Regions from separate parts of the Homo sapiens genome. Here all the other regions are linked to region 3. Evidence: promoter capture Hi-C in 16 types of primary human blood cells and fetal thymus (Javierre and others, 2016). All regions are on one chromosome and are shown on one strand. The core of a region is centred on a gene start or on the middle of the fragment in contact, and the rest is flanking DNA. Distances in the headings are between cores, read along the strand shown.

Region 1 (3,145 bases), core at 246-2,745, 450 kb before region 3:
AGAGGAGACTAGGGAGACACGGCAACTAGATACAATATGGTGTCCTGGATGGGATCCTAAAGAAGAAAAGGGATGCTGGGTAATAACAACTAGATACAATATGGTGTCCTGGATGGGATCCTAAAGAAGAAAAGGGATGCTGGGTAATGACCACTAGATACAATATGGTGTCCTGGATGGGATCCTAAAGAAAAAAAGGGATGCTGGGTAACGACAACTAGACACAATATGGTGTCCTGGATGGGATCCTAAAGAAGAAAAGGGATGCTGGATAATGACAACTAGATACAACATGGTGTCCTGGATGGGATCCTAAAGAAGAAAAGGGATGCTGGGTAATGACAACTAGATACAAGATGGTGTCTTGGATGGGATCCTAAAGAAGAAAAGGGATGCTGGGTAAAAACTAAGTAAACTGGAGTAAAAATGAACTTCAGTTAATAATAATATATGGGCAGGTATGGTGGCTCACACCTGTAATCCTAGCACTCTGGGAGGCCGAGGAGGAAGAGTCACTTGACGACAGGAGTTCAAAGCCGGCCTGGGCAACACAGCAAGACCCAGTCTCTACAAAATATTTTTAAAAATTAAGCAAGTATGAAGGTGCACAGCTGTAGTTCCAGTTACTCAGGAGGCTGCAGGGACAGGATCACTTGAGCACAGGAGTTTGAGACTGCAGAGAGCCATGAATGGTGCCAATGCACTCTAGCCAGGGCAACAGAATGAGATCCGTCGCAAAAATAATAGAATAATAATAACCAGTATCAGTTCATTAAGTGTAACAAACAGCTCACACTAAGATACTAAATTATGTACATTATATAATTTTATAATATTATAGATGTTAAAAATAAACTGGATGTGGGATTTATAGGAACTCTGCTTTCTTCACAATTTTTATGTAAATCTAAAACTAATTTAAAACAAAAGTTTATTAAAAAATACATCTATGGAAATGAAAGTATAACCCAGCAAAATTTATGCAATGCAACTAAAGCTTAGAAATTCATAACTGTAGATGCCTGTATTAAAAAAAAATCTCAAATCAATAACCTAACTTTCCACATTAAGCAACTAGAAGAGCAAACTGAAACCAAAGTAAGTAGAAGGAAGGAAGTAATCGACATTAAAGTGGAAAGAAATGAAATAGAAATACTAAAACGAGAGAAAATCAATGAAACTGAAAGTCGATTCCTTGGAAAAAACAACAAAATTCAAAAACCTGAAGGTAGACCAACCAAGAAAAAGAGAGATGGCTCAAATAAGTAAAATCAGAAACAAAACAGAGGACATTATAGACTTTACAGAAATAAAAAGAATCATAAAGGAATACTGTGGAACAACTGCATGACAACAAATTGGGTAATGCTGATGAAATGCACAAATTCCTAGAAAAACACAAACTACTGCAACTGACTCAAGAAGAGATAACCTGAATAGACCTATAAGAAACAAGCGAAGAGACTGATTAGTAATGTAGAAACTTCCAACAGAGAAAAACCCTGACCAACATGGCTTCAGTGATAAATTCTACCAAACATTTAAATGAGAATACCAACCTTCCACAAACTCTTCAAAAAAAAAAAAGTAGAAGGAATATTTCTCAATTTGTTCTATGAGGCTACTATTACCCTGATACCAAAACCAAAGCTATCACAAGACCAAATTCCTTACAAATATGGATGTAATTATCAACAAAAGACTAGCAAACTGAGTCCAGCGACATATAAAAAGAATTATACACTGTGACCAACTGGGAATTATCCCGGAATGCGGGGTTGATTTAACATATTAATAGAACAAAAGACAAAAACTACATGATCAATCACAATAGATGCAGAAAAGCATTTAACAGAATCTAATACCCTTTCAAAATAAAAACACTACACAAATTAAGAATACAAGGAAACTTCCTCAATTGATAAAGGACATCTACAAAAAACTCACAGCACACAGCACACAGAACATTTAATGGAGAAGAATGGAAAGCTTCACACCTAATATCAATAACAAGACAAGGATGTGCACTCGTGATACTTCTATTCAACACTTTACTAGAGGTACTAACTGTGGCAACTAGGCAAGAAAACCAAATAAAAGGCATCCATAATGAAAAGGAAGAAGTAAAACTATCTCTATTTGCAGGTGATCTTCCCATGTAACATTCTAAAGAATCTACTGAAAAAATTATTAGAATAAATGAATTCAGCAATGTGGCAGGGTACAAGATCAATCTATAAAAATAAATTGTATTTCTATAGTCTAGCAATAAACCACCAAAAATGAAATTAAGAAAACAATTCAATTTATAACAGCATGCAAAAGAGTTAAATACTTAGGAATAAATTTCCTTTTCTTTTTTATTTGAGACAAAGTCTCACTCTGTCACCAGGCTGGAGTGCAGTGGCGCAATCTTGGCTCACTGCAACCTCTGCCTCCCGGGTTCAAGCGATTCTCCTGCCTCAGCCTCCCGAGTAGCTGGGACTACAGATGCATGTCACCACACCCAGCTAATTTTTGTGTTTTTAGTAGAGATGGGGTTTCACCATATTGGCCAGGATGGTCTCGATCTCTTGACCTCGTGACCCACCCTCCTCAGCCTCCCAAACTGCTGGGATTACAGGCGTGAGCCACTGCACCCTGCCCCTAGGAATAAATTTAACAAAAGAAGTGTCAGATTTGTATACTGAAAACTATAGAAAAACGTTGACAAAATGAAAGAAAATCTAAATAAATAGAAAGATATTCCATGTTAGAAGAGATTTGAATGCTTAATATTGCTAAGACTGCAATACTTCCCAAACTGATCTACATAGTCAATGCAATTCCTACTAAAATCCCAAAATTTTTGAGGTGGTGGGTGCTGACAGAAATTGACAAGCTAATTCTAATGTTCATAGGGAAATGCAAGGATCATGGATGGCATGGCCAAAACAACACTGACAGAGAAAAAGCTGGAGACTCATACTTTCCAATTTCAACTTCAAATCTATGGTAATCAAGATAGTGTAGTACTGATATAAGGAAATACATATAGATAAATGGAACAAAATTGAAAACCCAGATATAAACCTTCATGTTTATGGTCAAGTGATTTTTGACAAGGGTGACAAGACAGTTCAATGGGGAAAGGATAAAGGCACTG
Region 2 (3,016 bases), core at 470-2,969, 420 kb before region 3:
AGAGCGCAGATACTACAGAGTTAACCACGAACTGCTTAGAAGGGGAGCCTGATGAGTGAGAAGCCCAATTATGAATTATTCTAAAGAAATAAAATTTATATCTTTGAAATAATGTGAACCTTACAGATTAAGCTATGAATATGCAGAATAATCGAATTTTAGAGCTAGACTGAAGCAAGGTCATTTAGTCCATGTATTCACACAATGTCTATAGTACAAAATATGATTTACATCAAGGTCCATTAATATACAAAAATTGTTGAATGATATATTTAAGAAGATTTTATTGAAGAGTTATCATGTGTCCCAAATAATGAGATTATCCCCTTAGATAATTCCAATACTGATGTCTGTCAGATACAAAGATACATGGATACACACATGTACATGCACACACAAACATACGATCAAAGCGCAGGATGATGAGGAGGAGGAAGCAGGGATAAGACTTCCACTGGACCTTCCACAATGACCCCAAATCTTCCTCCCAACTATTTCAACTGCTCCCACCCGCGACACCTCCTCAAATCCTCCACCCATCACCATGCTGAGCTCCCCACAGGGAGTTTGAGTCACAGAACCCAGAGGCCACCAGACAGCGTCCCCTCAACCTTCTTGCCTCTTTCTTGGCAAATCGGTCATCCCTCCCCCTACCTGGAGTAGAAGCCCTAACTCTCTTCAGGCCAGAACTAATTAGTCCCTCGGCTTCTTCAAAATGTCTTTCTGAATTCGCTCAACCTCCACACTCCCTCCCCATTCACAAAAAACTCTAAGTCCGCTATGCAGATGGGTCCTCTGCAGTCCTCCTACCAATTTGATATTTGAACTGAAGCTTTTTTCTTTCTGGGGTTTCCTCCTTGCTTTCCCCCATCTTTCTGGCTACTCAGTCGCAGTCCCTTTGTGGACTCTGCTTCTCTGAATTTCCTCAAATGTAATGGTCTTTTCTTCTTCCTCTAAACACTTTCCCAGGGGACTCTCACCCACTCTCATTAATTCAACTTCCTTCTCCCCTCTGTTGGGTCCCAAATCTCTCCTTTCTGGCCCCAACTTCTCTTCTGAGCTCACTACTTGCCTGGTTGACCCCTCCATCTCAATGTTCCTCATGGGTACCTCAAATGCCAAACTAATTTGTTCCTCTAATCAACTGTAATGGCTTAAAACCAGAAATCCACAAAATATTCTTGAATTTTGTTTTCCTTTCTGTTGGTTTCCTTGTATCAAGTGCTATCGATTCTATTCCAAGTACATTTCCACATCATCCTTTCCCTTGCACCCCTCTAGCCACTATCTGGTATATGAAAGCCACGTGGACTCTCACCTGTATCACTACAGTAACCACCTTGCCTCGAGGCTCACTCCTCTCTAAACCATTCTTCTTCAAGTGCTACTGTCACCTTAATACAAAGCAAATCAGATCGTGTTGCCTCCCTGCCTAGATGGTTCTGACGTTCTCCACTGGGGAGAGACACACGAGTCAACTCTCCATCTCTCCAGGTTCACGGTTCACTTCCTCTTTCCCTGCACACCACACTTGGACATAATTCAAAGATGAAAGGAACAACGGCCACTTTTATTTAATGGCCATCAAAGATGAACCCACAGTGTTCTGGGTTACTTTACGTGTATTCACTTAGAGCTCACAAACATTCAGAGCCCTGCACTGCAGGGTAGAATTCCCATTTTACAGACAAGGAGATCAGAGAAATGAAGTAGCATTTCCAACACCAAATCTAAGACACCAGAGCTTAAAGCCATGTTTGTCTGACTACCAAGTCCGTGCCTCCCTCTCTGGGGTTCTGCAGCCCTTCCCTTGAGCTGTTCATTCCTAAACCTTCTTGTACAATACCCTACAGACCTTTTCCCCTCCCTGACTCCACTCATCCTTCAGCACTCTGCTGACAGTGCTTCCTCTAGATGCCTTCCTACCACCAGACCACCTGGGCTGGGTACCCCTCTGTGTGTTCTATGCCCGTGTTCACCCTCCACAGCACCAGTCACTCTCCATTGTCATTTCTGGCTCACTTTTCTATATGTCTCCGGGGTCTAGACTGCAGGTGTCTTGGAGGTACAGACTGGTATTTTCTTGAATCAGCAAATGAAGAACAGCTCCATCCCGGGACTAGAGTGCTCACTGCCCCCAACTGTGGGAAGTCGTCTGCCTCCATTATGGCACAGGATCCTCTGTGAGGGAGACCACAGTGTGGCCACAGCAGCTGTGTTACGGCAGAAAGGGGCATGCTGTGTGGCAATGAGCTGGCCGCAGGGGCCTGCACCATTGGGCAGTGAAATGCTGACACGTTCCGAACACATGAAGTGAGGCATGGCAGGCAGATCAAGGAGCCAAGTTCATGTGGACGAGACACTCCAGACAGGCAGGGCAGGAGCACAGTGGAGTCAGAAAGCCCAGTGCTTGGCTGCAGCTCTGCCACTGACGAGTTGTGTAAATGTGGGCAAGTTACTTACAGAGGACAATCACACATCCTGGCTTGATCAGGACAGCCGTAGTTTGTCCCTGTTGTCCTAGAATAACCAATAATAGTAACCCCTTTCGTAATTAATTAAAATGTATAAGCCTATCACCTTAGGCTTAGCCTCCCCAAGCTTCAATGTCTTCATCAATAAAATTCAGATACAGAACCTGTCCTTCATTGTGGTGCTGTGAAGAATAACACCTGTAAAGTGCCTAGCACGTACATGAACTGAATAAATATTAAGTCATTTAACACTTAAGAGTCTCTAGGCTTTAACTTCCCATTTTCAATGACTGTCTTACTACTTCTTAGAAAGGTTTGTTAGGATCAAAAAAAAGCATTAAATAATGTAAGGCCCAGGCATGGTAGCTCATGCCTATAATTCCAGCACTTTGGGAAGCCCAAGTGGGAGAATCAATTGAGCCCAGGAGTTCGAGACCAACCTGAGCCATACAGCAAGACCTCATCTCTACAAAAAATAGAAATAAATTAGCCAGGTGTGGTGATGCATGCCTGTGGTGCCAGCTACCCAGGAGGCTGAGGCA
Region 3 (3,287 bases), core at 738-3,237:
TAAGGCATCAATAGTGTCCGTATTCCTTTGCACCATCAGTACAAAAACAAACTCAGTCAAAAAGACAGAGGAGGCCAGGCATGGTGGCTCACTCCTGTAATCCCAGAACTTTTGGGAGGCTGAGGTGGGCAGATCGCTTGAGCTCAGGAGTTCCAGAGGAGCCTGGGCAACATAGTGAGACCCCATGTCTACCAAAAATACAAAAATTAGCTGGGTGTGGTGGCGCACGCGCCTGTAGTCACAGCTGCTTCGGAAACTGAGATGGTACACTCGCTTGAGCCCAGGAGTTTGAGGCCGCAGTGAGCTATGATCAGGCCACTGCACTCCTGCACTCCAGCCTCAGCGACAGAGGGAGACCCTGTGTCAAAAACAAAAACAAAACAAAACAAAAAGCAGGGGGGGCCTGACACGGTGGCTCAGGCCTGTAATCCTAGCACTTTGGGAGGCTGAGGTGGGTGGATTGCCTGAGCTCAGGAGTTCAAGACCAGCCTGGGCAATGTGGTGACATGGTGAAACCCTGTCTCTACAAAATACAAAAAATTAGCCGGGTGTGGTGGCGGGCTTCTGTAATACCAGCTACTCGGGAAGCTGAGACAGGAGAATCACTTGAACCCGGGAGGTGCAGGTTGCAGTGAGCTGAGATTGTGCCGCCACTGCATTCCAGCCTGGGTGACAGAGCAAGACTCTGTATCCAAAAAAAAAAAGGACCAGACATATTGCATTGTTAACAAACTAGTTGTTAACCTTATGACCTCTGTAAAGGTCTCAGGGATTTCCAGAGGTCTGGGGACCACACTTTGAGAATCACTAGATTAAAAGGGGGAAAACATGGGAGGAAAAAAAGGTCACATAATGGAAACATACTGTTGGATTGAATTTCGTATATAAAAACCCTTTACTGAAATAAAGAGTAGAGACTTCAAGTACCAAGAGAAGCAGATTAGAAGAGGAGGAAGGCTCTAGGGACTGATCAGGTCTGGAGGCAGGGTTTTAAATGGGCCTTGAAGGGTTCGTGCAGTTTGGAAGGAAGGGATGGGAGGGAAAAGCTTGCTGAATCGTATAAATGAACAAGACCCTGATGGTGAGCTCTTGAGGATATGAAAGGCAAAAAGCACTAAGGCCGGGCTTTTGTTCCTCTGTGGCCCTGCATATATGAGGAGGTGATGAGTAATTCTATATTTTTATCAGCTTTACCGTTTAAAACTCCAAGGGAGGAAAACCCTTCAAACTGATAGGCTTGGGGCTTGGTGAAGGTGGGGTATTAGTGAAAAAGATGTGAAGTTTCTTTATCGAAAATACATGTATGTCCAAGAAATTCTCTGTAGATAAAAACTAACAAGAAAAAGAGTTTGTCAGAGAGGAAAAGTAGTTTTGCTAATTTATTTTTGATCATTTGCAAAGCCCATGGAAGTGTGTGGCAAGAGGATTGTGGTGTCTTAGGATATTCACATAGGTCTGAAACAAGGAAAACATACTTCTGTTGAAAGCACCATTCCAACATATTGTTATTAGCAGTCCCTGAACTAACGGGTAGTGGGTGGGTACTGTGTCCATCAGCTCAGCGAACCGCAATTGCCTCATTGACAGCAAGCCCAGCAAGGAATCACTTGGAATATTAATTTCCGTGGCCTTTCGCAATCACACGAAGCTTGGCTCCCTGCGCTTGCCGTAACGCGGCCTGTACCATTGCTTTCCGGGTGGCGGGGGGGATTTGGCAGCAGCGGAAGAAGGAGACCGGAGGGTGTGTGTTGGGCAAAGCCGGAGGCAGAGGAGGACGATTGTTTTACGGATCCCGTGATCGGCCCGTCCTTCTCCCCTTTCCCCCCCTCCCTACCGCCCCTGTCCCGCCGGGGAGCGGCGGCGGCCTTGGACTTTGCTGTCTTTCCTCGCGGAGACAGGTGAGTGTCGGCGCGCGGGCTCCCCGGGCTTCGCTCCCCACCCCCCGCGTCTCCGGGGCCGGTGGCGGCGGCCGGCCGGGGAGGCGGCCTCGGCGCACAGTAATGGCAGCGCTGTGAGCAGGGGAACGCGAGCTGACAGCCGCCGCCGCCGCCGCCTCCGCCCACCTTCCTCGCCGGGGCTTCGTCTTTCACTCCTTCGGGCTGCCTCCCCCTCCCCTTGTCCCCTGCCCCTTGCCCTGCTTCTGCAGAAGGTAACCCCGCTGAGGGTCGGGGAGCCGGGCTGCAGGCGCCGGGAAACTTCCCTTCCCGGTTAATGGGTGGCGGGGCTGGGGCGGAGGAGAGGAGTTGGGGGCGACGAGGTGTGGGGAGAGGGATGAAAGGGGGAGGCCCGGGAAGATGGTATCCTGTAAGTGACCTCGGCTCCCCAGAGCGCTGACCCGTAAGCCCTGCCACCCCCTGGACTGGATCCCGGGCCTCCCCAACCCGATCTTGGCCGCCTCTCCCGCGGCCCCATTTTCCTTCGAAGGAGGGAAGGTGAGAGTGCGTGTATTCTTCTACATATTTACGTGCTCACACGAATACACAACTCTGTGTGTTTGTGTGTGTGTGTGGGGGGGGGCATCTCATGCATCCTTACCCCGAGTGTTTTCACTTTTGTTTCCGCAGACTGCAAAGATTGATAGCTTTGGGGAGGAGTATCCTACGTGCATGCTAGACTTCTTGTCTCAACCCTTAGGGTCTGGTGAAATAAGATCCTCACACGCTTTCTAGCACTTGCTTACCCTCTAGAGAGTCTGGACCATTCCCTACCATTACGTGCATGCAAATAAAACATCTGTGAATTGCAGACTGTTATTAATGTTAAGTCCACATCTTTGCCCCATGGATTAATATTAACAGTTGAAGGCCAGTACCCTGGGCGTTTAAATTTTGAAGATAAGATGCAAAATATTAACGTTCGCTATAGATTGTGACTGTTCAACATAAACGTCTTTGAACTAGACCTGGCCAAGCCTACCTTCGTAGTAAAGTATCGGAAATAATCACTTTGATCTGATTGACAACTGACTACATAATAATCGCTTAAAAACATTCAAAACACTGTTGCCTACCCTTTAGAATCTTACATTCCTTTTCAAGACAGACACATGAACAAATGAGCTATACTTTGCTTCTTTTGCCCTTATACAGTATCTGGAAGATCCTTCCAAAAGAGTCGCGTGAGATAAGAGAAGTACACAGTTTTTTTGTTTTGAGATGGAGTTTTGCTCTTGTCACCCAGGCTGGAGTGCAGTGGTGCGATCTCGGCTCACTGCAACCTCCGCCTCCCGGGTTCAAGCAATTCTTCTGCCTTAGCCTTCCATGTAGCTGGGATTACTGGCATGCGCC
Region 4 (3,262 bases), core at 717-3,216, 430 kb after region 3:
CTCCATGTTGGTCAGGCTGGTCTCGAACTCCCGACCTCAGGTGATCCACCTGCCTCGGCCTCCCAAAGTGCTGGGATTACAGGCATGAGGTGCGCCCAGCCTTAGAATTTCTTTTTTAGTATGATTATCCCCTAGCTTATTTGAATTACTATTTTAATAAACACGTTCTGGAAATCTTAATTATTAATAACTTTGATTGTATTAGGCATGAAAAGTTAGGCAGATTTTTTTTATTTTAAAAAAAACTTTGTAATTGTGGTTTTACTTATATTGCCTCTATTCAGTAGGATCCCCCTCCCTCTCCCCCTCTCTTTCCCTCCCTGTCTCTGTCTCTCCCTCTCTCTTCACACACACCACACACATGCACACCAGGAAGCAGTTCTGTACTGTCTACAAATTCTCTGTAAGCCATCATAGAAGAGAAGTGAATCAGAGAAGGGGATTCAACATTCTACATGCTAAGACCTGTCCGGCACACACCTCTTCACAGCCTTGTCTGAAGTGACAGACTGTAGCAATTGCTAATTTGACTAAGAAAAAGGTTTCTGGGCCAGGCATGGTGGCTCAGGTCTGTAATCTCAGCACTTTGGGAGGCCAAAGTGGGCAGATTACCTAAGGTCAGGAGTTCGAGACCAGCCTGGCCAACATGGTGAAACCCTGTCTCTACTAAAAATACAAAAATTAGCTGGGTGTGGTGGCACATGCCTGTAATCCCAGCTACCCAGGAGGCTGAGGCAGGAGAATCTCTGGAACCCGGGAGGCAGAGGCTGCTGTGAGCTGAGATACCACCGCACTCCAGCCCGGGCAACACAGGGAGACACCTTCTCAAAAAAGGCCAGGTGCAGTGGCTTACGCCTATAATCCCAGCACTTTGGGAGGCTGAGGTGGGCGGATCACAAGGTCAGGATTTTGAGACCAGCCTGACCAACATGGTGAAACCCCACCTCTACTAAAAATACAAAAATGAGCCGGGCCTGGGGGTGCACACCTGTAATCCCAGCTACTTGGTAGGCTGAGGCAGGAGAATCGCTTGAACCTGGGAGGTGGAGGTTGCAGTGAGCCGAGATCACGCTACTGCACTCCAGCCTGGGCAACAGTTCGAGACTCTGTCTCAAAAGAAAAAAGAAAAAGGTTTTCGATTGCCTTTGCTATTGATTCAGACAGTGACATAACCAAATATATTAAAAAGAACTCCCACCTCTGGTCTCTTTGGTCTCGGCGGCAGAAGCGAGATGAGGAAGGGAGTGTCATCCTTAGGGAAACATCGCAGCTGGACACACTCCCTGTGCTGCTGCGGCCCTGAGGCCCCAACCTGCTAAGCCAAGAGAAGGCAGAACTGGAGTGCCAAGGCGAAAAGACGAAGCAACACCAGGGCTGGTTGAATGAGGCGCCTAAACATTGTACACTACAGATTCAGGCCTGGGCTCCGTGAAGGACAGCACCCAGACCCAAGGGCCAGCTACTGCACCTCATCTTCAGAATTTCAGTGATTGGTCATGGAATACATGTTCTGTTTTTTTTTTTCTTTTAAAGAATTCTTTGGGAATAACAAAAACTGAGGGGGAAATGAAAAGTTTTGTGGATGAATAGAAGAATGACACAGCTTCTTTAAAATGTTTGACACTTCTGGAACCTCTGAAGCATAAACAGGGTGCCACCCCACTGTGTTCAGTGGGCCTGTCAGCTCCATCTTCGTCTAAAATCAGATGCTTGGAAGTAGAGAAGGAACTTTTTTTAAAAATTTTTTATTTTTGTGGATACGTATTAGGTGTGTATATTTATGGGGCATAAGAAATATTTCGGTACAGGCATGTGATGACTAATAACCACATGAGATTAAGTGGGATATCTACCCCAAGCATTTATCCTTCGTGTTACAAAGCTCTGTTGCCCAGGCTGGAGTGCAATGGTGCGATCTCCTCTCACTGCAATCTCCGCCTCCCGAGTTCAAGCAATTCTCCTGCCTCAGCCTCCCGAGTAGCTAAGATTACAGGCATGCACTACTACGCCTGGCTATTTTTTTTGTATTTTTAGTAGAGATGGGGCTTTGCCATGTTGCCCGGGCTGGTCTTGAACTCCTGAGCTCAGGCAATCTACCCGCCCTGGCCCTCCCAAAGTGCTAGGATTACAGGCATGAGCCTCTGCACCTGGCCTCTTTTAGTTATTTTAAATGTACAATGAAATTATTGTTGCCTATAGTCACCCTGCTCTGCTAGGAAATATTAGTTCTTATTCATTCTTTCTAACTGTATTTTTGTACTCATTAACTCCACTCCCCTGCTCCCAGCCCCACACCCTTCCCAGCCTCTGGTAACCATCATCTACTCTCTATTTCCATGATTTCAGTTGTTTTAATTTTTAGCTCCCACAAATGAGTGAGAACATGCAATGTTTGTCTTTCTGTGCCTGGCTTGTTTCACTTAAGATGATGATCTTCAGTTTGATTCTTTTTTTTTTTTTTTCTGAGACAGTTTCTCACTGTCACCCAGGCTGGAGTGCAGTGGCACTATCTCACCTCACTGCAACATTGGTCTCCCAGGTTCAAGGGATTCTCTTGCCCCAGCCTCCCGAGTAGCTGGAATTACAGGCATCTAATACCACGCTGGGCTAATTTTTGTATTTTTAGTAGAGATGGGGTTTCACCATGTTGGCCAGGCTGGTCTCAAACTCCTGGTTCAAGTGATCCTCTCACCTCTGCCTCCCAAAGTGCTGGGATTACAGGTGCGAGCCATCGCACCTGGCTGATCTCATTCTTTTTTATGGCTGAATAGTACTCCATTGTGTGTATGTACCAGATTTTCTTTATTCATTCATCTGTTGATGGAAACTTAGTTTGCTTCCAAATCTTGGCTATTGTGAATAGTGCTGCAATGAACATAGGAGTGCAGATACCTCTTTGATGTACTGATTTCCTTTCTTTAGGTTATATACCCAGCAGTGTGATTGCTGGATCATGTGATAGCTCTATTTTTAGTTTTTAAGGAACCTCCAAATGGTTTTCTATTGTGGTTGTACTAATTTACATTCCTACCAACAGTGTATGAGGTTTTCTTTTTCTCCACATCCTTGCCAGCCTTTGTTATTACCTGTCTTTTGGGTAAAAGCCATTTTAACTGTGGTGAGATGATATCTCATTGTAGTTTTGATTTGCATTTTTCTGATGATGGGTGATGTTGGGGAAAGGGAACATTTTGAGAATGAGGAATACTGATGAAAGGGCCAGAAGTTCATTTTAGGCACTCCGAGATGTCAGCCGAGCAGT
Region 5 (3,364 bases), core at 96-2,595, 470 kb before region 3:
TGATGTTGAACTGCAGCAATTCAAGAAACTGTCGCTCTAGCTCGTTCCTGCAAAGCAAAGACAAAAATAGCCTATGCTTAGCTGCCACACCAGGCCACGTGGCCTGCCAAGGCAAGTTGCTGGAGACCAGACTCCAGAAAACTGCATCCTCCAGGAAGACCAGTGATCTAAGTAAATGTCTGGTTAGACCACCATATTGGGATTAAAAGCCAAATCCACTTGATCTGGTGCCCAGAAGGATGAGGACTGGTTAACTGGGATCATCACCAGGAAGCGTTTCAGGGCGAATCACTTCACTGAGATCTAACACACACACAGCAGGCTCTGGCTGCAGGTCTCCGTGAGGACAGGCTGCTAACAAAGGGTGGATGCAGCAGCCAAGAGCTGCCACGTGGAGTCCAGTGAGGGCCCTTCCGCAGGGGCCCAGAGGAAAACACTCAGCCTCTGCAGACCTAGAGGACATTGGCTTCCTCGGTGGCCCCTCCCTACCTCCAGGGAGAAAAGAAGGGAGGAACTGTGTAGGGGCTTTCTTAGGCAAAAGGCAGGGATTATGGGGGGAGGGTGTCCAGTCTCTGCCTCAGTCTCTTAAAAAGAGAACTCACAAGCCGGGAAGAATGGAAGCAGTAGTTTCCACACTTGAGCACGCACCCCATCACCTGGTGGGCTTGTTAGAACAGACAGGGGGCTCCACCTTCACACTGTGGGGATCAGTAGGTCTGCAGTGGGGCCTGAGAATGTGCATTTCTAAGGAACTCCCAGATGATGGTGAGGCTGAGGCTCTTGCCCCGGGCCCACACTCTGAGAACCACTCAACTAAAAAGGTAGGTTGGGAGAGGAGGTGCTAAGATCCACCCTGCCAACCCATCTACATGTTGATGGAATGCTGGGAGAAATTCAAAAACTTCTACTTTAAGAACTTCTCATGTCAGCTATCTTTCAAATTAGGTTTATTTCTAGATAGTTCCTCTGGGTGGGGGGAACCTTCTCAGTGAGGGAACTATCTGTGGAGCACTGGTCCTGGGTCATGCACTCAGATTCAGCACGTTCTCCCCAGGAAGCCCCCAGGGGTGCCCACCCACAGGGTGCCCACCCACTGCACACCCTCCAGGAAACCTCCTGTCCTTGCCCACACTATGCAGCATGTGGCTGCTGAACTCAGCCTCTTGGGCTGTTCTCCTCATAGTCAGGAAGTGCAACATCTGCTTTTGCATGCCTGGCCCCCAGCACATGATCTCAGAAGGCTTCCCACAGCAGTGAGAGCTGAACTGAGGTGAGGGAAGCATGGAGCTCTGGCGGAGAGGAACCAGGGCTGAGGAGGGGGTGTTTCAGGCAGAGTGGGTCCCCTCCAACCTGCTGCAGGCAGCCAAAACACACAGTCACCATTTCCTGTGAGTGAAGCCAGGGCCCTAGTGCAGGGCCTCACCCTCCTGACCCTGATCCCAGCCTCGGCATTCTAAGTCATGTCCTGCCAACTCTGCTGAACGCTGAGGGTCTGGGTCTGAGCCTCACATGCAGGCACCATCCTGTCCTGAGTGATGTCCCGAGACCCCTATGGCTGTTCCCGGTGACTCATAGCACTCAGCTATGAAGGACTGAGGAGGGCTCCACACCAGCTCAAGTTGCTGTGACAAAGGACAAGAACAGTAAGGAGGCGGGTGGGGAGGCTGGGGCTGAGCAAGGCCAGTGGCTCTGGGGAGACATGAAGCTGCTGGGGAAAGGAGCACTGGGACCTGTGGGCAGGCGGCAAGGAAGGAGGCCCGAGGAAGGCCCATTCCGGTCTCTTCATCAGATGAAGAGCGTCACTGCTTGTTTCCACACAGCCTCGTGAAAAGAGTGATAACAAGCTCCAAATGTATTTACTGTACTAAATTTCATAGTTTTAAGAATTTAGGCTGGGTGTGGTCACTCACACCTGTAATCTCAGCACTTTGGGAGGCTGAGGCGGGTGGATCACCTGAGTTTAGGAGTTTGAGACCAGCCTGGCCAACAGGGTGAAACCTCGTCTCTACTAAAAATACAAAGAAAATTAGCCGGGCATGGTGGCACATGCCTATAATTCAAGCTACTCAGGAGGCTGAGGCAGGGGAATCACTTGAACCCGGGAGGTGGAGGTTGAAGCGAGCCAAGATTGCGCCATTGCACTCCAGCCTGGACTACAAGAGCGAAACTCTGTCTCAAAAAAAAAAAAAAAAAATTAGTCAGGCATGGTGGTGGGCACCTCTAATATCCCAGCTACTCAGGAGGGTGAGGCAGGAGAATCACTTGAACCCAGGAGGCGGAAGTTGCAGTGAGCCGAGATTGCCCCACTGCACTCCAGCCTGGGCAACGAGAGCGAAACTCTGTCCCAAAAATAAATAAATAAATAATAATTTACTTTGATTTGGGATAATTTTTACTTAAAACAACTTTTATTTATGCTTCATTTAAATGAGATTTAATAAGAGATCATCCTGTGAAATACTGGAATCCAGGTAAGACTTCAACAAAACGAAAGCGTCAGAGGCCCTGCTAAGGCCAGAACTGTCAAACGTCAAAGGAGCAAATCCCAAGTGAACCTGGGAGCTGCCATGGACACACCGCCGTCTGGTGGTCAACAGGCGTCACTGCAAAGCGTATTCTCCCAATAGTAAGAAGAAAAGTCTAAGAGAACAGCCTGATAATCCTGCCCAAAATGATATACAGACACCATGGTTCCAGATGGAGGCAGACACTACGAGCAAAGTCAAGAGGAAGCTGCTTTTGAACAAGGCGGTATTTTCCCAGGGTTCCCTGGAAAACAGAACAACCTTCTCCAAGCTTGAGTTTCTGGTTAAGCTTTGGGAAAATAGATTTTAGAGCTGTTGTATTTTCAAAAAATGAATTTTTTTCTAAAGATTTAGAAAATAAAAATAATTTCCAAAACTTGAATTTCCAAACTGCAGCAGCACATCTTTTACAGGGACACTGACAGCTTGCTATGTGATAAATTATCAGAAAACTAACGTGATGCCAAGAATGGGCCTGATGGATTTACTATCTGCATTTAGATAACTATGAAGAAACAGTTTTGGTGTAAAACGTTGTAAGAAATATATTCAAGTCGACCAACAAAAACCACATTTCAGAAATATTTGTCACACTAGATCAACACTGTATAAAAACCCAATTTGGTACAATTCAGCAACTTGAAAATAGAACTCTAAAATGATGTTAAAAAGAGCTGTTTTAATCATCTAATATGCTGCCTACTTTTCTAGAAACTAGGGTCACTTCCCAAAAGAAGGAGAAACAAAGTCTTGAAAAGGTATCTGCATAGCCACACTTACAGCCTCCACTTACTAGCCCAATGTGGAGGTAACCCAAGTGTCCATGGGTGGATGAGTGG
Region 6 (3,175 bases), core at 641-3,140, 500 kb before region 3:
GTGCAATCATGGCTCACCGCAGACCCAATCTCTTGGGCTCAAGCAATCCACTTGCCTCAGCCTCCTGAGTAGCTGGGACCATAGGCACGTGCCACCATGCCTGGCTAATTTTTAAAATTTGTGTCGAAATGGGGTCTTGCTATGTTGCCCAGGCTGGTCTCAAACTCCTGGGCTCAAGAAATCCTCCTGCCTCAGCCTCCCAAAGTGCTGGGATTACAGGCGTGAGCCATCACAGCCAGCCTGCCTTCTATTTTTCAATAAATAAACTATAAACTTGGGGCTCTCAGCCTTTACAGGTGAGGAAACATCTTGGTAATTCAACACCTAATTCTCCCCCATGCCTGAAATTCCTCTCACAATGCAGGCATTACACCCCTGTCTCTGTGAGAGACGTCATGAGGCACAGAGAATAAAACCCCTCACCATGTCTTCTGTAATGAGGGTAACATACTGTCCATTTCTTTATGAAGAATCCCCTCTCTTCCCTTCAGATTGCAAATCAAAACTTGATGGCCTCCTATGATTGTGAAAATATTTTAACTTAACAACTGAAACAAATATAAAGTTCTCAAAGGAAGCAGTGAATTTTGGCACTGGAATGAAAGTAGGTATAGAGTGCTGGAGAGTCCAAAGAGTTGAGCCTGTTTCTAAAGCTGGGCCGGGTGCAGTGGCTCACACCTGCAATCCCAACACTTAGGGAGGCTGAGACTGGAGGATCACTTGAGCCCAGGAGTTTGACAGCAGCCTGTGCAACATGGCAAAGCTCCACCTCTACAAAAAATACAAATAAAAAGAAATTAGCCAGTGTGGTGGTGCATGCTTGTCATCTCAGCTACTCAGGAGGCTGAGGTGGGAGGATCACTTGAGCCCAGGAGGTCGAGGCTACAGTGAGCCATGATCATGCCATTGCATTCCAGCCTGGGTGACAGAGCAAGACTCTGTCTTAAACAACAAACAAACAAAAACAAAAACAAAAAACAGCAACAACAACAAAAATAAAATACTTGAGCTGAGCTGATTGATACAGCTACTGCACTGTAGCTCCATTAGCTTCTGCAGCAAAATGCCTTCCTCTGTGCAGTTTATGACATCAATAAATAATTGACCCTAAAAGCAACAGGTGTGGAGTTCTTCCTTCTATTTCTAACTTCTTACTTAGCTGTTAAAAAACAAAACCCATGCTGTTGCCAGAGTGATCAAAAACAGAAGGTCTTTTTCTGACAAAAGACAGATGGGTTGAAATTAACTGTGCCTTTGTTTATGTCATTTTGGTTTTGGCTCAGTTTGTTGTTGTTGTTTTTTAAGCTCTTATTCAATGAAAGCCTTAGCAATGAACTGAAACAGGATGGAAATTGCAGGGCATTTCTACCATTTCTCAGGAACAACCAAACTCTAAAAGCAGTTGCTTTCTGTTTCTCTCTCTTTTCTGTTAAATTGGATACTGAGGCAAACCAGGAGCTGAAGATATCCAAAGTTCTCTCAGAGTACAGCACTTTCAATATGGCCATTGGGAGCCATTATTTAAGGGAGCAAGGACAGGATATGCATGAGCTTCTGACAGTAACTACACAGATATGCTTCTTCTCTTTGGAGCTGAGAGGAGAAAAGGATGGTTTCGGGCAAGAATTCCTTTCAGCCCCCACAGGAGGTCATTTTCTGTTCCTGCACTTACAGCTCCATCCACCATTTTCCTTAGTGTAAGGGGGGGCAGCTCAGAAGGAGTTAACAGCAACTTGGGAGGCTGAAGCAGGAGGATTGCTTGAGCCCAGAGTTCAAGACCAGCCTGGGCAACATAGCAAGACCTCCATCTCTACAAAAAATAGAAAAACAAGTTAGCCAGGCGTGGTAGTACATGCCTGTAGTCCCAGCTACTCAGGAGGCTGAGGCAGGAGGATTGCTTGAGCTCAGGGGTTCAAGGCTGCAGTGAGCTATGACCATGCCACTGTACTCCAATCTGGGCAACAGAGGGAGAACTTGTCTCTTAGGAAAAAAAAATGTGGTAACACTCGCTGATTCTGGGGCTGGTAGCAGATACAGGAGCCAGTCGAGACCTGAGGGGTGGGGTGTGTGTCCTGATCCACACACTCACAATGAGGATGTGCCCAGAGCCAGGGTGGGCCTGGGCCTGCTGTTGGGTGGAGCCCTAACTAGGAATGGTCCTGGGACCTCAAGGAGCCCTGCACGCCGGGCCACATTGTACTGGGCCCCATCTTCCTTCATGTGAGCCTTGCCTTCTTTCTGTTCCCTGACTGCCACTCTAAAGTGCAACCTAGAGAGGGAGACAGCTCAGATGACCTTAGCTATGACAACACCAGCAACTGACAGAGATGGAGAGGGAGGGGTGTTCTCTTCAGATGGAGAGGTACATGCAGAAAGAAAACCACATGGCTGGCTGGGTGCAGTGGCTCAAGCCTATAATCCCAGCCCTTTGGGAGGCCAAGGCAGGTGGATCACCTGAGGTCAGGAGTTCAAGACCAGCCTTGGCCAACATGGTGAAACCCCATCTCTACTAAAAATACAAAAAATTAGCTGGGTGTGGTGGTGGGCACCTGTAATCGCAGCTACTCGGGAGGCTAAGGCAGGAGAATTGCTTGAACCTGGGAGGTAGAGGTTGCAGTGAGCCTACATCGTGCCACTGCACTCCAGCCTGGGCAACAGAGTGAGACTCCATCTCAAAAAAAAAAAAAAGAAAAGAAAAGAAAAAGAAAACCACATGGCCACGGCCACCTAAGTATTTGTAGTCTCAGGAGAGAGGACAGAGAGAGAGAGAGAGAGAGAGAGAGAGAGAGAGAGAGAGAGAGAGAGAGAGAGAGAGACAGACAGAACTCCCAGACAGAACTGGTTGATTCAGAGAGGACTTCGGAAATCACTGGCTTGACTCCTTCAGACATCAAGAGCAAAAATGAAGCTGAGAAAAGTGCTGTAGGCTGAACAAGTCCCCCCAACATTCATCTGCTAACGTCCTAACCCACAGAACCTCAGAACGTGCCTATATTTGGAGACAGGGTCTTTTAAGAGGTAATGAAGCTAAAATGAGCCCATTAGGGTGAGCCCTAATACAATCTGACTGGTGTCCTAAGAAGAAGAGATTACGACCAGAGAGAGACACCAGGGAGGTGCGTGCACAGGGAAGATGCTACAGGCACCGGGGGAAGCCGCCATCTGCGAACCAAGG
Region 7 (3,005 bases), core at 261-2,760, 440 kb after region 3:
TCCTTGTTGCCAAAAAAAAGTTGGGGGCCACTGGTTTAGATCTTGCAGTATTGTGAAGTAATTTTTGGTCTTCTGAGAGACTCCAAGCAGCACACCAGCATGAAAAGATGAGCCATTCACGGCAGCTCTTGGCATTGGTTTTAAGATGAAATACATCAATATTAAAAATAACTATAAAACATTCATGAAAGTTTTTGGAGTTTCTTTGAAGAATGTCTTTGAAGCTGACTTAACATTATTGCATTTATTACAGTTGCTCTGCAGTTCAACTGGGCTTTATAGGTTTGCATCTGGGGTTCACATATGCATTTTAAGACGAGGTTTGAGTCTGTTTGTATAAATCAAATGCAGTCCTCAGACTCATGTGCAGGCCGCATGGCGATCCCGGGATGAAGTAGATATTTCTATTTATAAACAGATTCCTGAGTACTTCAGATATTATTTGTATGTTGGACTCCTGTCTAGAATTGGCACATATCTACATGTACAGAGAAGAATAATGAAATGTCAGGGGTCTCACTGCACCCTCCTCTTTGATCCCATTCTCTGAGGTTTTAATTTGGGCCCAGGAAGCAGCACTTAAATATCCCTACTCCAGCTGCTAGCTTCAAACAATACAAAGCTAGGCTTCCAAATATATTTATCATTTCTTGGTTGAATATTTGCAAAAACTGACCTACCCTACGATTTCTCTCAAATAGGCCTTAGCAACTACAAATATGGATGAGAAGATAGAAAGGGAAGCTTTATGTTTGCTTGCATTTTAGCTAAAAGATAATTAGAAGTGCAATTTAAGTTATGATAATGGAAAAAAAGAGCTACACGTTAAGTGTGGTGCATTGACTGCATCGAGAAAAGGTGCAGTCTAAAGCCCAGCAAAGCTTAAAAGAGAAAAACTAGAAAAAAAGAACTTTTTGGAATATAAACTGTGACAGATTTTTTGTATTTTCTGTGGGCTTGAAAAGTCCTTAACGTTTTCGTTGTTACTGCCCTGGTACTATTTATGTGTTAGAATACAGAACAACTTTAAATTTGTGGAGTCTTATCAGTAGGACTGCTGGCTTTGCGAAACCCGTGCAAAACGGACACTTTGAAGTGACCTTCCCTGTTTAACTCATCCGCTCCTCCCTTCAGTGAGTACATACTACTGTGTGCGGTGTGCTCTTCCAGATGCTGGGATGCAGTAGTGAATGGAGACAAAGCCCCTGTCCTCATGGGCTTAGACTCCAGCTTATGACTTGTTGTTTATAATAAATAATGAACATTGTGAGGTTATTCACAGGAAGGGATGAATAATGGATGGATCTTCAAAACGTGATTCTGGTTAACTACAGACATCCTGAAGTTCCAGGTATAAAAAGCCTTCTTTAAAGCATACTATAGCAGTCAGAATGAATGAGTAGTTAATAAAGCTCTTTGCTGAAATAAAAGCAAATATGTTCACACTTCCAAAAAATAAATACCCAAGTGGGAGTTGTATGGTTCTGATGTCAAACATGTTATGAGACCATCAGAGGTATATGGAAATTTGGGGAGGAAGACAGTAATTATATAAAAGTGCATGCAAGCCTGGGCAATATAGGGAGACCCTGTCAGCCTGCAAAAAAATAATGATAATAAAAAATCGTAGCTGAAGGTGGTGGCATATACCTGTGGGTCCCAGCTGCTTGGGAGGCTAAGGTAGAATCACTAAGGAGAATCACTTGGGGCAGGGAAGTGGTGGCTGCAGTGAGCTATGATTGTGCTATTGCACTCCAGCCTGGGCGACAGAACGAGACCTTGTCTCACGCACACGAAAAGCAATTACTGAATTAGAGATGTGATGTGGGAAACGCTCCCATCTAAGTAATGACCAAGAATATTCCGTGATAGAGATGAAGTCTTAGCAGGACTTCCCTCTCAGGTTATTAGTGGTGATGATCCTGCTTTGTTTTATTACCTTATTACTATTATGCTCTCTGAGGTATGAAGTGATATTAATCTGTTTGCAGTGAGAAATAACACTTTATAGCATTGCTATCATTTAAACATATTAAAATATGTTGTAATGCAGAAAAACACCCTGGGGAGAGAGGTGAAAACTTAGGAGTTTAATTTGAAATGCAGTTGGGAAATTATTTGGACAGCAGAGAAAGCTTTAGGGCAAAATTTCAGTAATAAAGTATATTATTTTCTAAATTATTCATCAGGGAGTTGAGTTTGTTTTTCATGTACCTGGACTTAATCACGATTACAAAAAAATGCTTAGCTAATTGTAGTCATTCATCTATACTAATCCAAAAACAAAAATGAGGAGTTATTGATGGTTTTTATTTAGGTAAAACAATTTATTTGACTGTGAGTGGTTACATATGATAACCATATATTCAGTTATTTCTAACTTGCCTGTTTTGTGAAGAATGCTATTTTGTGACTGTTCCTGCGTCTCGCTATGTTTTGGGGGTTCTGGCCTAGTTCCTACAACATATACTCTTATCCCGGTTCTGTGTTGTCCTGGTGATTCTCCCAAGAGCTAATCAGTTAAAGAGATTTTCTTTTCCATTTTGGATTTTAGCTTGGAGTTTTACTCTTAGTAGTAAAATGGTATCTAAAAATAAAACGGGGAAGAATTAGAACATGTCAGATATAGTAACACGTTTTAATAATTTGCTCTAAAAATCTGCTCATCAGCTGATAACCTTTCGTTTGTCCACATGTCTGCTTTTTAAAACGCTTGGTTTCTTAATATCCCAGTGAGAACAGGCACCTGCAGAGATACTTAGTTGCTCCCAGCCGCAGCTGCAGAGCGACTTCTAGATTCTGCGTATCTTGGTTTATTTCATGCTGTTTTCTTTAAGCCATACTGTCTGCTGGTCAGATGGTAAGAGATACCTGTTTTGGAAAATTTGGTAAATAATCCAGGGTTACAAGTAAATTTAGCATAATGTAGAGGCTTTATTTTGCTCATTTAAAATATGTAGTCTTGGCCAGGCACAGTGGATCACACCTGTAATCCCAGCACTTTG

Evidence for each region. The method cuts DNA at HindIII sites, captures the fragments that hold promoters and counts their contacts. A CHiCAGO score of 5 or more calls a contact.
Region 1: a contact is called between a fragment that was not itself captured here and the fragment with the promoter of CUL2 in region 3, in 14 of 17 cell types (activated CD4 T cells, neutrophils, naive CD4 T cells and 11 more). The highest score is 21.5, in activated CD4 T cells.
Region 2: a contact is called between a fragment that was not itself captured here and the fragment with the promoter of CUL2 in region 3, in 10 of 17 cell types (naive CD4 T cells, total CD8 T cells, naive CD8 T cells and 7 more). The highest score is 9.9, in naive CD4 T cells.
Region 4: a contact is called between a fragment that was not itself captured here and the fragment with the promoter of CUL2 in region 3, in 5 of 17 cell types (fetal thymus, megakaryocytes, M2 macrophages and 2 more). The highest score is 12.7, in fetal thymus.
Region 5: a contact is called between a fragment that was not itself captured here and the fragment with the promoter of CUL2 in region 3, in 15 of 17 cell types (naive CD4 T cells, activated CD4 T cells, total CD8 T cells and 12 more). The highest score is 19.7, in naive CD4 T cells.
Region 6: a contact is called between a fragment that was not itself captured here and the fragment with the promoter of CUL2 in region 3, in 8 of 17 cell types (activated CD4 T cells, neutrophils, monocytes and 5 more). The highest score is 9.7, in activated CD4 T cells.
Region 7: a fragment that was not itself captured here is called in contact with the fragment with the promoter of CUL2 in region 3 in 1 of 17 cell types (fetal thymus); the score reaches 5.4 in fetal thymus.

What each region holds. Positions count from the first base shown.
Region 1 is chr10:35,539,007-35,542,151 of GRCh38, reverse strand. All of the region lies in intron 7 of CCNY (cyclin Y), which reads right to left. Among named protein-coding and RNA genes, the nearest start is that of GJD4, 65 kb to the left of the region's middle. The HindIII fragment of the contact is 992 bases long and covers 1,000-1,991 here.
Region 2 is chr10:35,510,326-35,513,341 of GRCh38, reverse strand. The region is part of intron 3 of CCNY (cyclin Y); the gene reads right to left. Among named protein-coding and RNA genes, the nearest start is that of GJD4, 94 kb to the left of the region's middle. The HindIII fragment of the contact is 1,769 bases long and covers 835-2,603 here.
Region 3 is chr10:35,089,041-35,092,327 of GRCh38, reverse strand. CUL2 (cullin 2) reads left to right here and starts at 1,987. Exons shown (of 21, transcript NM_003591.4): 1 at 1,987-2,149. RefSeq lists an enhancer at 1,567-1,706 and silencers at 1,625-1,813, 1,867-2,066, 2,087-2,216. The HindIII fragment of the contact is 6,346 bases long and covers 1,651-3,287 here.
Region 4 is chr10:34,662,072-34,665,333 of GRCh38, reverse strand. The region is part of intron 2 of PARD3 (par-3 family cell polarity regulator); the gene reads left to right. It also overlaps the pseudogene RPL37P18. Among named protein-coding and RNA genes, the nearest start is that of PARD3, 150 kb to the left of the region's middle. The HindIII fragment of the contact is 6,127 bases long and covers 1-3,262 here.
Region 5 is chr10:35,562,706-35,566,069 of GRCh38, reverse strand. CCNY (cyclin Y) reads right to left here. Exons shown (of 10, transcript NM_145012.6): 9 at 1-47. Among named protein-coding and RNA genes, the nearest start is that of GJD4, 41 kb to the left of the region's middle. RefSeq lists enhancers at 1,019-1,098, 1,369-1,478, 1,539-1,648. The HindIII fragment of the contact is 2,906 bases long and covers 1-2,798 here.
Region 6 is chr10:35,586,996-35,590,170 of GRCh38, reverse strand. No RefSeq gene overlaps it. Among named protein-coding and RNA genes, the nearest start is that of GJD4, 17 kb to the left of the region's middle. The HindIII fragment of the contact is 6,824 bases long and covers 1-3,175 here.
Region 7 is chr10:34,645,465-34,648,469 of GRCh38, reverse strand. The region is part of intron 2 of PARD3 (par-3 family cell polarity regulator); the gene reads left to right. Among named protein-coding and RNA genes, the nearest start is that of PARD3, 170 kb to the left of the region's middle. The HindIII fragment of the contact is 1,254 bases long and covers 884-2,137 here.